2 separate regions of the Homo sapiens genome follow, and region 1 is linked to region 2. Evidence: promoter capture Hi-C in human tissues and cell types (Jung and others, 2019). All regions are on one chromosome and are shown on one strand. Each heading gives the region's core, a stretch centred on a gene start or on the middle of the fragment in contact. The rest is flanking DNA. Distances are from core to core; before and after follow the strand shown. Region 1 overlaps RNF103-CHMP3 (RNF103-CHMP3 readthrough). Region 2 holds the start of REEP1 (receptor accessory protein 1).

Region 1 (3,183 bases), core at 451-2,950, 300 kb before region 2:
AAAGGTCTAAGAGGACATGGGCAATTCATGAAAGAAAAATATGTGTAAACAATAAACATATGAGGAAATAAGTAATTTATTATTCTAAGAAGTAATTTAAGTTAAAATAGCAATGAGATACCATTTCAGCTGCAAAACTGGCAAATATTTTTAAAAATGAAAATGCCCAGAACTATTGAGGTTATCAAACCTATATTTACAGTAGGATATTCAGTTTATATGAACTTGTTTGCTATATGAGAGTGGTGGGATTATGCCTATTTTACATTTTCTTCTTTTTGCTTATGTGTATTTTTTAATGCTTCTATAATAAATATGAATTACTTTTGTAACAAAATGTACACTTTATTTTATTTATTTTTTTACATGCAATACTTTTATTTTAGACATGCAAGGAAAGCTGTTTCAGAATCTACTGTTTATTATTTTTTTAAGACAGAGCCTTGCTGTGTCGCCTAGGCTGGAGTGCAGTGGCACAGTCTCGGCTCACTGCGACCTCCACCTCCAGGGTTCAAGCGATTCTCATGTCTCAGCCTCCCTAGTAGCTGGGACTACAGGTGTGCACTACCACACCGGGCTAATTTTTGTGTTGTTAGTAGAGACAGGGTTTCATCATGTTGGCTAGGCTGGTTTCAAACTCCTGGGCTCAAGTAATCCTCCTCGGCCTCCCAAAGTGCTGGGATTACAGGCGTTAGCCACCACCCCAGTCCACAAAATGTACACTTTAATCTCCCCCTTTTAATTGAGAGCAATTTCGCTATCTTGAAGTTCTCTTTCTCTTTCTTTTCTTCATGCTAACCAATTCCAATTTTCTTCATCTTTCCTTAGAAGACCTAATTTTCATACTAAAATTATATTTATCAAGCTTTTTAAGACTTTATTTTTGCCATGTGCTTAATTAAATTGAGCTTACTTTCAGAATTACTCTACCATAATGACTTTAATTTTTGAAAAATCCTTTTCTAGTCTCTCTGTAACTTAACAGACTTCCATTTGCACTACATTTCATTTAAAATATACATTAGCCAGATTGACACTTAAAACATGTTCACCCTGTGTTCTTTTGTCTAAAAATAGACTTATTAAGTGTCTTCTGTGTACTCTGGTACTGTCCCTATGTGTCATAGCAGAGATGCATTCCTATCAGTGTATGTGGGCACGTGTGTGTGTGTGTGTGTGTGTGTGTGTGTGTGTTTGCATGTATAAAACATATGCCTTGGACGGGCGCGGTGGCTTACGCTATAATCCCAGCACTTTGGGAGGCCGAGGCAGGCAGATCACAAGGTCAGGAGTTTGAGACCAGCCTGACCAACATGGTGAAACCCCATCTCTACTAAAAATAGAAAAATTAGCTGGGCATGGTGGGGCACGTCTGTAGTCCCAGCTACTCAGGAGGCTGAGGTAGGAGAATAGCTTGAACTCGGGAGGCGGAGGTTGTAGTGAGTTGAGATCACGCCACTGCACTCCAGCCTGGGTGACAAAGCGAGACTCCATCTCAAAAACAAAAACAAACAAACAAACATGTGCCAGGCTCTGGGCTAAATGGCTTCTAAGCTTTACTTCATTTGGTCCTCACAACACTTTTATGAGATCATCATTATTGTTTCCATTTTACAGATCAGGGTTAGAGAGGGGAGCTCTAACATGCTAGAGATTAGCCTGAAAGCACAGGAGCTAGGCCATGCAGATGGCATGCAGGAAGGAAAGAGGGTAGTATAGAAATAAGACTATGTACAAGGCAGCATATGAGAAATGCTACAAATACGTTTCTGAACACACATTTTCTGGACCTTCACTGATTTCAATAATTTGGTTGCAGAGGACGGATTTCATGGGTATGGGAACAGTGCAGCTGCACATGGCCCCAGGTTCAGAAGAGCCCTGCATGCTTGGAGTTTAATGCTCTGCAGTTGCTTGATATTCTTAATAATTTAATCTTTGAATTTGTGTCTTGAATTCTTAATAATTTAATCTTTGAATTTGTGTTTTGCAAGTGAAGTCCAATGGACATTGAAGCACGTGCCATTAGCTTACATGCGGTTCTGCCTGCTGCCAGCTCCCCACCTCCCTGAGAATAGGTCCTTGGCAGCCTGTTCTCCATTGCCTGGTTCCTGGGACCCTGCCCAGCCACCCCCTCTCCACATCTGCTCTCCCCACTGTGGCCCCTGCCTGCCTTTAACTGGGATGGCAACTATGTTGTGTCTGGCAGAGGTGGGGGTTGGGGGGTAACATTCTGCTGTCATCCTCTGCTTTCAATAGGGACCTGGAGTTGCACCCGGGGAGACTTGAGGCTGGGCATCCAGGGTCTCTTTGCAGCAGGGCCTGGCAGCACCACAACTGTTAGGGGGCAACTCGCCTCTGCCCCACCCCCAATCCAGGCACTGAGCTTGTCCTGGCACTGAGGTTTCAATCCCTTCAGGGCCAACCATCTGCTGCAGGTTGGCCCGGCACCAAGCATTGGCCTGTGGCTGGAGGGAGGGGGACCCCGGAGCCTGTGAGGACTCACACTTGCCCTGGGAGTATCCCCTGCCCAAAGGCGAACTATATTAAAGAGCAAATTTTAAAAGCACATCATGACCGACAGGTCAAGATAGATGGTGAAAGAAAGGAAAAGCTTTGTATTTCAGCACTTTTAATGGCACTTTTTCTTCCTAGCCTTTTGAACAAGGGCCTGCATTTTCATTTTGTACTAGGCTGGAAAATTATGTAGCCAGTCCTGCTGTCTCATGGTTAGCTTCAGGCAATCAGAGGAGGGAATGGTTTACTCCAGGAGGAATGGTGACTTCTTATTTGCTTATTCCACCCTTCTTTACCTTTGCCTTCAAAATGTTTATTCAGGGAGTCCTACTGCCTGCTGTTACTGGTGTTGGCAGAAGATAGCACTGGTGACTGTTTTCTGCAGAGGAAGCTGCCAACCGTTGATATAATTTCTTCTTTTCTTTTTTCTTTTTTCTTTTTTTTTTTGAGACAGAGTTTTGTTCTGTTGCCCAGGCTAGAGTGCAGTGGCACGATCTTGGGTCACTGCAACCTCTGCCTCCCGGGTTCAAGCGATTCTTGTGCCTCAGCCTCCCTAATAACTGGGATTACTACTGGCATGCACCACCATGCCTGGCTAATTTTTTTATTTTTGGTAGAGAAGGGGTTTCACCATGTTGGCCAGGCTGGTCTCAAACTCCTGACCTC
Region 2 (3,092 bases), core at 362-2,861:
AAACTGGGTCAAGGCAGCATGAAAAAACTGCTACATTACAGCTATTTTATGGGTTCTTTGGAGACCTGAGATATGAGAGCATGTCTCATCTGCAGTCCCTTTGTTGTCCGTGAAGTCTTTCTTCTGACTATATCAGGCACACGCACGCACAGATTCTGCTACATCTGAGAGTACTAAGCTGTCTCCTGCGCTTCTCACATCTGACACTGAATTATACATGACACCATCATCAGCAAAGGACAGGGCGCTGGGAGCACCACGCAGAACCTAAGCTATTGGAGGGTGGGAAAAGCAGCAGCAGAGCCTAGGAGTAGAGGACAAAGCGTTTCCAGTGTAACAGAATAATGTACTATCTGCGGCCGGGACTAGGGTGAGCAGAGTGAGGCGCTCAGTGAGGGTGCAACATTTAAGAGGTGCCATAAAATTCAGCAACTAAAATACATAATAGGTGGCTCACTCCTGTAATCCCAGCACTTTGGGAGGCCAAGGCGGGCGGATCACGAGGTCAGGAGTTTGAGACCAGCCTGGACAACATGGTGAAACCCCGTCTCTACTAAAAATACAAAAATTAGCTGGGCGTGGTGGCGCACTCCTGTAATCTCAGCTACTCATGAGGCTGAGGCAGAAGAATCGCTTGAACCCGGGAGGCGGAGCTTGCAGTGAGCCGAGATCGCGCCACTGCACCCCAGAGCGAGACTCTGTCTCATAAAAAAACAACAACAACAAAAAAAACCACCATAATATTTAATACGGTATTTTAAAAAATACATAAAAACGTTTATATAGGGTGCACAAGTTCCCTTTTGCCTAAGAGTTCAACGTGGCTCAGCGGGGCACTGGTGCTAAGCAGTCGCAGCTTCTAGTCTCCTCCTAGGGCCCGGAGCAGCCCCCAAGGAAAGGCCTTCCCTAGGAAGAAGTAGCCCTTCAGCCCAGCCTAGAAGAAGGAGCTGAATCAAACCAAGGCAGGACGATGAGGCGTGGCGTGTACTGACAGGGAAGAAGAAACAGCAAATATTTGAGTCCAAGATGCCTGGAGGGAAAAGAGCTAGAGGACTATTTGGGGGAATGGTCTTGGCAACACGGTTCTAGGCAGGTACCACGATCATATAGGGACTCTGTAGAATTTTAAGTAGGGAGGCAAGCGCCCAGGTTTGTTTCTTATGCAGAAAGTGCTGAGCAACGGACAGACTGAAGAGGTTAGGTCTGGATCCAGGTAAACCCTTTATGAGGCTAACGCACTAGCTGAATGAGGGATGACAGCATCCCACCTAGACAGGTGCAGACAGATTCCCGAGGTTCAGGTTCGGACTTCAGTTTCTCCGCTGGAACGCTGAGGGTGGGGCAGCACCCGGGTCCCTGCCCTGCAAACGGGGCCGCTGCAGGGTTCCTTTGGCGGGGCCGGTGCCCCGGGGAGCGCGCAGGACGCGCCCGCCTTCAGCCGGGGGCCAGGGCGAGCGGGACGGGGCGGGCCCGCGGGTGCCCTGACCAGCTCACCGCCCAATCGCTGCGGGCCCGCCGAGCCCCGGGGGGCTGGGGCCGCCGCCGCCGCCGCCAGAACGTGCCGCGGCTGCGCCAACGCGCGAACGCCGGGCAGGGCGGCGGGCGCGCTCAGTCTGGCGGCGGCTGCCGTGAGCTGACTGACGTTCCGGGAACGCCGCAGCAGCCCGCGCCGCCCGCAGCCTAGCCGAGCCGCGCCGCCCGGGCCTCGCCCGCCCGCCTGCCCGCCATGGTGTCATGGATCATCTCCAGGCTGGTGGTGTAAGTGGCCTTCTCCCCCGCGCCCCTCCGTCCCCTCCCTCCCCGCCCCCGGCCCCGGGCTGCGCGCGCCCCTACAGCGCCCGGTCCCAGTGGCTCGGGCTATTAATACCCGGCGCAGCTAAATTTAGCAGGTACAGTAGCCGCCGAGGACGCCTGCGGGCGGACGGGCGGCGCAGGACGCGGCTGCTGCCCAGGAGGCAGCCGGCGCCGGCGGCCGCTTGCGGGGGGCTGGGCCGGGACGGCGAGGGCTGGGGCGCTCGGGGGTTCCGTGGGGGCTGCGTCTCGCCGCGCGCTGGCCGCTTTGTTCCTCAGCTCGGTCGATTTGCAGAGGCCCCGAATGGGCGCACCGCGGACACGCGTCTCTCTCCTTTGGCAGAAATGTGAGGTCGCCCGGCGCCGCGCCCCGCCGCCCCAGCTTTTGTCAGGTGGAAAGGACAGCGCAGACGAACCAGGGGCGCTGCCTGGAGGGTCAGCGCGGAACGGGTGGAGAGGCAGAGGCGGGGCTCCCAGTGGGGTTGGAAAAATCCTCCTTTTTAGGTGTCTGCATCGACAGCGGCAAAGGCAGCTGGGACATGGGAAGACGCATGTGAATCTTGGAGTAAACGCCTGGAGCCCCCGGCTCCGACTCCTTTTGCAGGGGATTGAGAGACAGGGGCAGGTACCTCCAGGAATGCACGGGAAATTTTCAAGTGACAGCCACCCGCATGGTGGCGATGACACCTCCCAGGCCTTGCAGGAGAGCGCAGAGTCATCTAGGGTGAGGTCTGTGTGAAGTCATTGGGGGTGGGCGTGGGGGCCGATTTTCTCCTTCAAGCCCCAGGACCTGTAGGCGTTTGAAGAGCTTCCCCGGTGGATTTATTCTCCTTTGGAGATAGACGTGGCTGTTCCAAGTCCCTGTTCTTCCCTAACCATCCTGGCCTGAGTCAGAACAGATTTGCCACCTGCTGTAGCTAGCAGGGGCTGAAATGGGTGTGGGGAGTCTAAGGCGGGGAGGAGGGTGGCAGGCACCTCGGGCTTTTTCTTTGTCTGAGAACACGGGGCTCTGGACCCCAGTGATTGTGCACCATCACTCCCCACGTTTTGAAACACCACCCATCTCCCTTCCCTTCTTTACTGATTTTCCCTTCCGAAGTGGATCTCAGCATTGTCTCCCGCCACCATTCAGGGCTTTCCTCCCAAAGCCAGTGTCTGTGCCTCTCAGCCCCCAAGTCATTCCGTGAAGGCCTCTCCACAGCTGTTCCTGACTGCGGGGTGTTTGCGCTGCACCTTGAGGTGGCATGTTAAATATTTAGAAGATTTCTGCTGGCAGAGCCGACATGAATAATACAGGAAAG

What was found. Contacts are between HindIII fragments. The study calls those that stand out against the background at their distance.
Region 1: a fragment that was not itself captured here is called in contact with the fragment with the promoter of REEP1 in region 2 in 2 of the 25 tissues and cell types used here (dorsolateral prefrontal cortex and spleen).

Annotation. Positions count from the first base shown.
Region 1 is chr2:86,632,512-86,635,694 of GRCh38, reverse strand. All of the region lies in intron 2 of RNF103-CHMP3 (RNF103-CHMP3 readthrough), which reads left to right. It overlaps LOC124907853 (a long non-coding RNA gene), which reads left to right and starts at 3,181. Exons shown (of 2, transcript XR_007087122.1): 1 at 3,181-3,183. RefSeq lists an enhancer at 2,360-2,883. The HindIII fragment of the contact is 3,155 bases long and covers 123-3,183 here.
Region 2 is chr2:86,336,145-86,339,236 of GRCh38, reverse strand. It overlaps REEP1 (receptor accessory protein 1), which reads left to right and starts at 1,611. Exons shown (of 9, transcript NM_001371279.1): 1 at 1,611-1,758. The coding sequence starts at 1,727. The HindIII fragment of the contact is 14,274 bases long and covers 1-3,092 here.